Linked DNA regions of Homo sapiens: all the other regions are linked to region 3. The links are contacts of gene promoters, found by promoter capture Hi-C in blood cells and fetal thymus (Javierre and others, 2016). All regions are on one chromosome and are shown on one strand. The core of a region is centred on a gene start or on the middle of the fragment in contact, and the rest is flanking DNA. Distances in the headings are between cores, read along the strand shown. Region 1 overlaps NUP214 (nucleoporin 214). Region 2 overlaps NUP214 (nucleoporin 214). Region 3 holds the start of FAM78A (family with sequence similarity 78 member A).

Region 1 (3,607 bases), core at 1,088-3,587, 87 kb before region 3:
CCAGTGTTGACCCCAGTGGCTGCTAACCAAGCCAAGCAGGTAACTTACTGATTTTTACTTTTTTTTTTTTTTTTTTTTTGAGACAGAGTCTTACTCTGTCGCCCAGGCTCAAGTGCAGTGGTGCGATCTTGGCTCACCGCAACCTCTGCCTCCTGGGTTCAAGTGATTCTCGTGGCTCAGCCTCCTGAGTAGTTGGGATTACAGGCACCCACCACCATGCCCAGTCAATTTTTGTAGTTTTAGTAGAGACGCGGTTTCACCGCGTTGGCCAGGCTAGTCTCGAGCTCCTGACCTCAGATGATCCATCTGCCTCGGCCTCCCAAAGTGCTGGGATTACAGGTGTGAGCCACCGTACCCGGCCTGAGTTTTACTTTTAACATTCATGCCGTGTCTGTCTTTGTAAGTGAAGACCATACTGTTTTTAAGTCTTGACTTTGTTTAAATGAACCATAAGTCTGATAAAGGCCCATAATCCCTTCCCCACAATTTATGCCAGTCTTGACATGGCTGTTAATCAGGGTAGGTCAGTCAGGACCTGATACTGTCTTCATAGGCCATTTAAACATTCTGCACCTAGTAATTTGGGGTCATAATTCTAATACCATACATTTTTATATGAAGTATTTTGCTTTGCAGTTTACTTTCACATTATCTCAGTTAACCCATACAACAGCCGTGTACAGTGGGAGGATAGGTGTTTAGATATGTCTCACTGGTGAGGCAGCCTAGGCTTGAGTGACCAACGCAAACTCTCACGATTAGTAAATGGTGGAACCAGAGCTGGGACCCAAGGCTTCTGACTTCCTCCTGTCCATTGCTCGTTTCACTACACAGTTGAGTATCAATGTCTGGGGTATAGGTTATCTGGTTTTCTCCTGCAATCCCTGTTTGTCAGAGTTTGCATATTTTTAGTGATGTTATGTCTAGCTTGTCTAGCTTCAGGCTTTTGCCTGATAAACATTGTCCCTTAGAAAAATAGGTGATATTGCAAACAGTTAAACAATCCAGAAAAAAGTGATAGGGGATGGTTGGAAGGTCAGTCAGGCTAGTGCTGAAACTCTTCCTAAGAAGTTCTGGTTTCTCTCACTACTCTTACATCTGTCTCTGAGATGAGTAGTTTGTGTTAGAGATCAGAATTTGAGACTGGATATCAGGACTTGCCTATTTAAGTTCTCAAACTTGCCTCTGTTCCTTAGTTTACCATAACTTAAAATGGCATTTAAGCATTTAGCATTCGATCTTTCTTCTGGAGGTATTTGTGTTCACCATGGAAAACACATGATAAGGCATAAGTCATGGCGAGTGAAGGAACATTGACTGGAGATGGATAAGTCAGTTTTGCTTTTAACCTTATTGTACATGCTTTGAGAGCTAGAACCATTTTATTAATTTACTCCTTCATTAATTCATCTACCTAATAGTCAAGTGCTTTTGATGTGCTAAGCACTGTGCTAGGCACTGGGAAGATAGCCATGAACTAGGCCAGTGTGACTGCCTTCTTGGAGCTTGCAGAGTATTTCTATTTTCATCCTTTAATATGATCTTACATATGGTTAACTTAAATTGAGACCTTTTTTTTGTTTCCTTTTTCTTTTTGGTAATTTATCTAAAAGTATTTGTCCTTGCTTATTTTAAATTATATTTTTGTGTTTACATTTTACATATTTCTTTGTTACAAAGAATGGTTAGTGGTTTAACATAAACATTTTGCTTGCATTCTGTTATAGGGGTCTCTAATAAATTCCCTTAAGCCATCTGGGCCTACACCAGCATCCGGTCAGTTATCATCTGGTGACAAAGCTTCAGGTCAGTTTGCATTTTTGTTTTCTTGAAAAGTGAAAGAAGCACTCCACAATAGGGGTTATTGTTCTGGATCACTGAGACAGTTGCCATAGGAAACAGGAGTCACATTTGATGAGATCGGGAGCATTCAGGGTAGTATGACCATAGACAAGAGATCATATTTGAAAGCCGTCAGCTAATGAAGAATTTCTAGAAAATTAGTATGCCCTTCAATGGCTATGTAGACTTCTGAAATTTTTAGGTTAGTTTGAAAATGATAGAGCAATAGGAGAAAAACCTCCCTTTAAATTCTTTTCCTAAAATGGAGCAATAGTATTATCTTTTTCTTCCTTGCTGGATGATCACAGTTGAGAGGAATGGATCAGAATGCTAAACGCTATTTCTTCCACTAAAAGGAATTAAAAATTCTGTTGGTCCACAGTGACAGTTCAAAAGCCTATAAGGTAGAGAAAGTGAAACAGATTTGTAAGATCTCAGAGTATATAATGAGTCGATATTATGAGATTTTATGGCTTCACGTAACTTCTCCTACACTCACTCAAGCATAATTATTCTTAATTTAGTTTTCACAGTAACCATGAGTGTTTTGACCAGACACTTTGTCCAAGTGTCATTGCCCAAACCAACTTTATGCAGAATGTGGGTCTTCCTCAGTGTCCCCTTTTGTTGGCTCCTTTATTATAGCCTACCTAATTTGGCGTGTATTACTTCCTGCTGCAAGGGTCTTGTGCTGTCTGCAATACTGAATTTTTACAACACTGTTGATTCTGGCATTTGTTTCAATCATGCTCTTAAGTGGGCCTTCAAGCAAATTCTGTTAGAAATTGAACTTCATACATTAGCAGCCTGCGTCTCATAATCTTAATCATACAGTCATTCTGACTTTCTCTGTAATCCCAAACTTTCTGATTGGATACTGGATTTATCTTTAGTAGCTATTCCTTGCAGAAGGAAGCCATTATTGCATAAGCCAGAGTTGTATTCTAGAATTCGGAGTGATATGGAACCACAGTTGGTATCATGTACGCCTCACATGAGAAGGAGGTATCTAGCACTTCTCGACCGGGGCCTAAAGCTTTATGTTAAAAGGAAAATTATATAGTAGAACTGTCAAAGACTTGAGTATTTTACAAAAAGGTTTTGAAAGATCATATACTCTTTTTTCAAGGACTTCATTGGAGAGGTTTTTGTCACTCTTGGAGTTAGAATCAAAGAAACCTAAGGAACTTTGCTTTATGCATGTCTGGGCAAGTAGTGTGACTTGCAAGAAATTTCCGAGATTCACCATTCATTGCTGATCATGAAATCCTCTCTTTTGTTACGAGGTGTTCACTTCTGTTTTCACTTGCCAGGTAATCAAGGTTTAGAAAAGAACTTTTTTCTTTTGGTAGGAAAACTTCCCTGAAAGGTGCTGCTTAAGAGTTTGCAAAAAGTTTCTTTTTGAAAAAGAGCATTTCTAAAACCTCTAGAGAATAGTTCTCTTATTAGTAATGGAAATACCTTCATTGTTTTTCTGATTGTAAAACTATTACATGCCCAGAAAAAGCCTATGGTGTAGAGATATATAATGTAGAATGTGAAAGCTGCCCTATAGATTCTGTATTCCAGAGATCATGATTTCATGTATATCTCTTGAGGTTACTTCATTGTTTTTTAAAGAAAAATATCCTATATACTGTATATCCTATATATATTGATTTTGTAACTTATTTCCCCTTCTCTGCCCCCTCTTACAATAAATGTCTTGGTCTCTGCAGGTCTGATACAGATCCACCTTACTCATTTTAAGAGCTGTCTACAACCT
Region 2 (3,195 bases), core at 345-2,844, 110 kb before region 3:
AAATATATAAATTTTAAAAAGAAAAATAAGTAACATTTAAAATTTAGTTTTGCAATCCCAGTAGCCACATTTCAAGTGCTCAGTAGGCACATGTGACTAATGGCTACTGTAATGGCAAACACGTATAAAGAACATTTCATCATTGCAGAAAGTTCTACAATTCAGAGTAGGGGTTGGCAGATTTTTCTGTAAGGGGCCAGCTGGAGAATAGTTGAGGTTTGCAGGTGCTGTGGTTTCCATTGCACCTACCTAACTCTGCTGTTGTAATGGGAAAGCAGCCACAGACCATGTGATGAGAGGGGCATGTCTGTGTTTCAGCAAAACTTTATATTTCTGCAAAGAGACAGCTGGTCTATGGTTGTAGTTTTCTGACTCCTGCTCTAGAATGTTTTGCCTTTCTTGGTGTTTTACATTTTCATATTAACCTTAAAATTGTCTTGTTAAATTCTACCTCCCTGTACCTAGAGTAGTCAAAACTATAGAGACAGAACTAGAATGGTGGCTGCCGGAAGCTGGAGGAGGGAAAATGGGGAGTTAGTGTTTCATGGGGATGAAGTTTCAGTTCGGGAAGATGAAAACGTTCTGGAGATAGATGGTAGTCACGGTTATACAACATTAGGAATGTATTTATGCCATGGAACTGTACACTTTAAAATGTGACTATGGTGCATTTTATGTCATGTATATTTTACCACAATAAAAAAATAAATAAATAAAAAAGAAGGGAGGCAGGAGAATCGCTTGAACCCGGGAGGCAGAGGTCGCAGTGAGCCGAGATCATGCCGTTGCACTCCAGCTTGGGCAACAAGAGCGAAACTCCGTCTTTAAAAAAAGAAAGTTTTGGGGGAGGAATTTTGCCTTCCTCAGCCTTCAAAGGAAAGTTGAGATTTTGATTGGAATTGTATTGAGTCTCTAGATCAACTTGAGAATTGACATTTGTGCAGTAGTGAACTCTCAGTTCCTGAACTGGGTACATATTTGTATATTTGGGTGTTCTTTAATTTCTCTTAATGTTTTCTGCGTGGGAGACATGCACATCTTTTGTTAGATTAATTGCTAAAAATTTAATTGCAAAAATTTGTTGCTCTTATAATGGTAGATTTTTTTTCCTTAAATTTTATGGTTTATGTTGGATGTAGTATCGAGAAATACCATTGATTTATGTGTATTTACTTACAGCCAACAACCTGGCAGAATTCATTTATTCTAACACGTCTGTAGCTGTTTCTTGGCCTTGTAACTATGGAAACAATGAAATCCTCCATGGATACTAATGGTGACGTTTCTGCCTTTCCAGTCCTTTTGTTATTATTATTATCATTATTATTATTATTATTATTTTACCTTACTTCACTGGCTAGAACCTCCAGTGCAGCGTAAAAGTGTCGTGTAGCTCTCCTTGATCTCAAAAGGAGCACTTTCTATAGTTCATCCTAAGATGTGAGGTTTGCTGCATCTACTGAGATGATCATATGACTTTCTATCCTTTTGTCTCCCCACCCTCCCTGCCCTCAGTCATGTAGCTTTCTACCTTTCCTTATCTGACGTAGAGTGTAAACAGAATAAGATTCTTTAAATTTCAGTGGGACGCTCTTTCTAATGCCAGGCAGTTAGCTGCATCCTTGATCACAGCAGAGAGCAGCACCCATTAATGGTGGAGGCAGCACCATTGGCATAGTGAGCAGTCCATGCCCCATGCTTCTGTGAGTGAGCATGCCCATTGCATCTTTCAGTTGATGGGGTTCCTCCACCGAAGGCAGGTAAATTGCCTCAGAAAGGTGAAGGAAGGAACTAAGAGTACCTTCATGTTACATAGGACCTTGGAGGTTACATAGTTATTCCAGTGTCTCTTTCTGTCTAGTTCTTGAAGGTGATGTGATTATTTGAGTCATCTTTTATTGTTACTATCAGGAACTACAATAGGATTTTGGAGAAATTATGGAGAGAAATTTGGCCCCAAGAAAACATGGGTTTGTATTAGTTTCCTATGGATGCCGTAACAAATTATCACAAACCTAGCGGCTTAAAACAGTACCTAGTTGTTATCTCACAGGAAGATTTTCTTTTTTTTTTTTTTTTTTGTTATACTTTAAGTTTTAGGGTACATGTGCACAATGTGCAGGTTAGTTACATATGTATACATGTGCCATGCTGGTGTGCTGCACCCATTAACTTTTCATTTAGCCTTAGGTATATCTCCTAATGCTATCCCTCCCTCCTCCCCGCACCCCACAACAGTCCCCAGAGTGTGATATTCCCCTTCCTGTGTCCATGTGTTCTCATTGTTCAATTCCCACCTGTGAGTGAGAACATGCGGTGTTTGGTTTTTTGTCCTTGCAATATTTTACTGAGAATGATGATTTCCAATTTCATCCATGTCCCTACAAAGGACATGAACTCATCATTTTTTATGGCTGCATAGTATTCCATGATGTATATGTGCCACATTTTCTTAAACCAGTCTATCATTGTTGGACATTTGGGTTGGTTCCAAGTCTTTGCTATTGTGAATAGTGCCGCAATAAACATACGTATGCATGTGTCTTTATAGCAGCATGATTTATAGTCCTTTGGGTATATACCCAGTAATGGGATGGCTGGGTCAAATGGTATTTCTAGTTCTAGATCCCTGAGGAATCGCCACACTGACTTCCACAATGGTTGAACTAGTTTACAGTCCCACCAACAGTGTAAAAGTGTTCCTATTTCTCCACATCCTCTCCAGCACCTGTTGTTTCCTGACTTTTTAATGATTGCCATTCTAACTGGCGTGAGATGGTATCTCATTGTGGTTTTGATTTGCATTTCTCTGATGGCCAGTGATGGTGAGCATTTTGTCATGTGTTTTTTGGCTGCATAAATGTCTTCTTTTGAGAAGTGTCTGTTCATGTCCTTCACCCACTTTTGGATGGGGTTGTTTGTTTTTTCCTTGTAAATTTGTTTGAGTTCATTGTAGATTCTGGATATTAGCCCTTTGTCAGATGAGTAGGTTGTGAAAATTTTCTCCCATTTTGTAGGTTGCCTGTTCACTCTGATGGTAGTTTCTTTTGCTGTCTCACAGGAAGATTTTCTGTGATGATGGAAATGTTCTGTATCTTTGTTGTCCAACAGGGTAGCTACTAGCCACATGTGGCTGTAGAGGACATGAAATGTGGATAGTGCAATCGAGGAATTGATTTTTCATTAATTTGCTTT
Region 3 (3,138 bases), core at 193-2,692:
GGTCAGGAAGCAGGCCAGGAAAGGAGCCCCAGGGTCCCAGGGTCCTCACCGGGACCCCCAATACCCTAGGCACACTCTGGAGACCGGGCTTTGGGGCTGCAGAGGAGAGGCTCCTCTTTGCTGTTCCTGTTAGGGCCTCGCCAGAGGGACACTGGACTTGTCTGCATAAAGCGGTCTTCTGCCTTGGAGACAGAAAGCGATACACTGTGAAGAAATCGGGCTTCTAAAACTAACTGTGCTCTCAAACACAGTGCCGTTTGGAACGGGGAAGCACTCCCCCAGCTCCTGGCATACACTGGTAAAAGCCAGAAAGATAATTGAGGCCCAATCGCAAAGCCCTGAACACACCGGTCTGGGAGTTGCAGAGTGCCTGAATGTCTGCCATGGGCCCGCACAGGGCCAGAGGCCTGGAGGGCAGCCCTGCAGCCTCTCTGGTGACCCCTGATGGCACAGACACTCCTCAGGCGGACGGCACACTTGCTCTGCCAGGAAACACTGGGAGTAATGTCTCTCTGCTTTCTCGGCATCTTGCAGGGAAGGACACAGGAACCCGGGGGGAACAGTGGCAGGGTAGATTGCAGGACCGTGACTCCAATCTGGATCCACAGGCAAACTTTTCAGGGAGCCACCGGGCCAATGAGGCCACCTGCATACCTGCCTAAAGCTTCCCTCTGGCCTCCGTCCTGTCTTCATGGTATCTCCACCTTCCCCCTATCCGCGGCCCCCCACCAGGCCTCCAAGCTCGGCCATCCCTAGCAGTTCCCAGAGCTGGCTCTCGGCCGTACTCACATGCCCTGCTCGCCGTACTGGTTGTAGAACTCCATGTGGCTGCACGCCTGGATCCAGCCAACTACCCAAGTCTCCTTCTTGGGGATGGGCGGCATGACCACCTGGGCCGAGGCCCGGAAGTGGGGTGTCCGGTAGCGGAGCACCACGCTGGAGGACTCATCGATGCTAGTGGGGACGGGGTCGATGGAGGCTTTCACATCAATCACCGTGATCCCTTCCCGGAAGACTCTGGCTTTGCCTCCGATGCTCTGAATACAGCCCATGGCATACAGGAGCGCTCTGATCTCCAGGGAAGGCCAGCAGTCACAGAAAAAACCAGGCATTGAAAGGACAGAGGCTGCAGGACCCAGTACAGACGGCGCTGCTCTCCAATCTCAACTCTCAAGACCGATATCCATAGGATAGAAAACTCACTGAGTAGACTGGGGTTGCATATATCACTACCGCGGCCTGTTTATAAATAAGGATTCTGCTGCATTTCATGAGCCCTGGGCTCTCTCTTCTTCTCCTCGCAGTGGACAAAAATCACCGATATTCTTTGGGTTAAAAAAAGTTTGTAGTTTAATGAATAATTATGCGGTTCTGACATCCAGCCCTTCTGTGCCTCACACGCGGGGACGGCAGCTCGCAGACTCTCCCTGAAGTCTTCGGAGGAAGCAGGCGAGCGCCGGCAGACTCATAAATAAGGAAGGCTCTGTCCCCGCGCGGCCGCGCCACCCTCGCGGCAGAAGCCTGACTTCCTGCCCTCCGGCCTTCCGCACGCGCTCCCTCCGGGCCCCGCACCCGCACCCGCCCGGCGCGGTCGAATCAATTGCAGAGCAGTTTGTGTTCACCCGGCCGAGGTCCCGGCGCCCTCGGGGCGAGCGCCGACCCGCGGCTTCCAGGAGGCGAGCTCAGGGCTCCGGCCGCTCGCCGGTGACGGGGGAGCGCGGCGCGGGTCCCCGTCGGCGCCCACTCGCGGGCGCGGGCCGGACGTCCCCACGCAGGGGCGCCGCGTCCCTTCGCCGCTGTCGCTGCCGGCCGCCGTGCAGGGTCCCGGGGCTGCGCTCCGGCCGCCGCCGCCTGCTTCGCCGCGGCCGCCGAGGACCTGGTGGGAGGTGGAAGGGACAGCGCGTCAAGGCCAGCCTCAAAGTTAAGCCGAACTTTGCTGCGGGGGGCGCGCGGGGGCGGCGACGCGTGTGCGCTGGGCGCGGGCTGCGGAGCTGACGGCGCAGCTCTGGGCGGTCTCCCCGGAGGCGGTGGCCCCCGCCCCCCGCGCCCGCCCCGTCAGTGGCGGCCGCACGACCGCGCGCACCAGCGAATAATAGCCGCCCGTGACATCTCCGCTGATACCGTCCCGGACGGGCGGGGTGGGGGGCGAGCGGCTGCCGCTGCAGGGGGCGGCGAGCACTTGCCCTGCTCTGTCCCCACCGCCGCGCCGCCAGCGCCAGGTGCCCCTTCCCCACCCCGGTCCCTCCGGCTCCCTGGGCGCAGGGCCACCCACCAGTGCCGTCGGATCCGGCGGGCACCCCTTTCCCGGCTGGGGTCCCTCGGCCCTCGGAGGGCATAGTGCCCCCGCTCCGCCGCGTCAAGCGCCTCTGTCGCCCCTCTCCAGCCGCGAGCAGCCCCGGGTCCCCACGCGTCGGGCGCGCTCGCCGCTGCCGGGGAACTTTGGCGCGCACGCCCCCACTCGGGCGGCGCCGCCGACTCACCTGCCCCGGGGGCCACTCCGCTGGCCCGGGCAGCCGCTCTCCGGACGCCCCTGACCCGGCCGCGGGCACGTTCTTGGGGCGCCCCCACCCCCTTCCCCGGGCACTGTCCCTTGGCTCTACTGGAGTCTGGGGCCGGCGTGGGCGCCCCCGGCCCCCACCCTCCTCCCGGCTTGGGGCTTCGGGGGGGCGGCCGGGGGCGGAGGGCTGAGGCTCGGGGCTCTCTCGCCCCCACCCCGCGCGCCTCCTTTATTTTATGATCATTGTGAGCGCGCTGTCGCCGCTCAGCCCCGCCGCCGCGCCGCTGCCGCCTGGCGCGCCCCGCGCTGCCTCGCTCTGCTGCAGCATCGGAAAGGCAACCGGGTCAAACTTTGCAGAAACTCGGCCCCTGCGCCGGCCCGGCCCCCGCGTCCGCTCGCCGCCGCCGCCGGCCGAGCGCAGCCGGCGCACGCAGGGACCGCCGCCCGCTCGCCGGCCCCGCGGGGATGCAGGTCCGCAGGCGGCGGCGGCGGCGGCGGGCGGGCGCCGCCTCCTCCTCCCCGCCCGCCTGGCTCTCCACCCTCGCTCCCCGCACACAGCCCGCCCTCCCCCTGGTAATCCCTCGCTCCCCCTCGCTCCCTGTCTCTGCAGCTGCTCGGGGAGCTGAGCCTCTCCTTGAACA

Evidence for each region. The method cuts DNA at HindIII sites, captures the fragments that hold promoters and counts their contacts. A CHiCAGO score of 5 or more calls a contact.
Region 1: a fragment that was not itself captured here is called in contact with the fragment with the promoter of FAM78A in region 3 in 9 of 17 cell types (megakaryocytes, naive CD4 T cells, total CD8 T cells and 6 more); the score reaches 8.6 in megakaryocytes.
Region 2: a contact is called between a fragment that was not itself captured here and the fragment with the promoter of FAM78A in region 3, in 3 of 17 cell types (megakaryocytes, erythroblasts and total CD8 T cells). The highest score is 9.9, in megakaryocytes.

Annotation. Positions count from the first base shown.
Region 1 is chr9:131,187,326-131,190,932 of GRCh38, forward strand. NUP214 (nucleoporin 214) reads left to right here. Exons shown (of 36, transcript NM_005085.4): 25 at 1-39; 26 at 1,728-1,806. Among named protein-coding and RNA genes, the nearest start is that of NUP214, 64 kb to the left of the region's middle. The HindIII fragment of the contact is 1,078 bases long and covers 1,799-2,876 here.
Region 2 is chr9:131,169,485-131,172,679 of GRCh38, forward strand. The region is part of intron 21 of NUP214 (nucleoporin 214); the gene reads left to right. Among named protein-coding and RNA genes, the nearest start is that of NUP214, 45 kb to the left of the region's middle. The HindIII fragment of the contact is 5,166 bases long and covers 1-3,195 here.
Region 3 is chr9:131,275,068-131,278,205 of GRCh38, forward strand. It overlaps FAM78A (family with sequence similarity 78 member A), which reads right to left and starts at 1,443. Exons shown (of 2, transcript NM_033387.4): 1 at 790-1,443. The coding sequence starts at 1,112. RefSeq lists enhancers at 1-42, 158-770, 183-232, 263-312, 473-972 and 1 more and a silencer at 1,613-2,792. The HindIII fragment of the contact is 5,571 bases long and covers 663-3,138 here.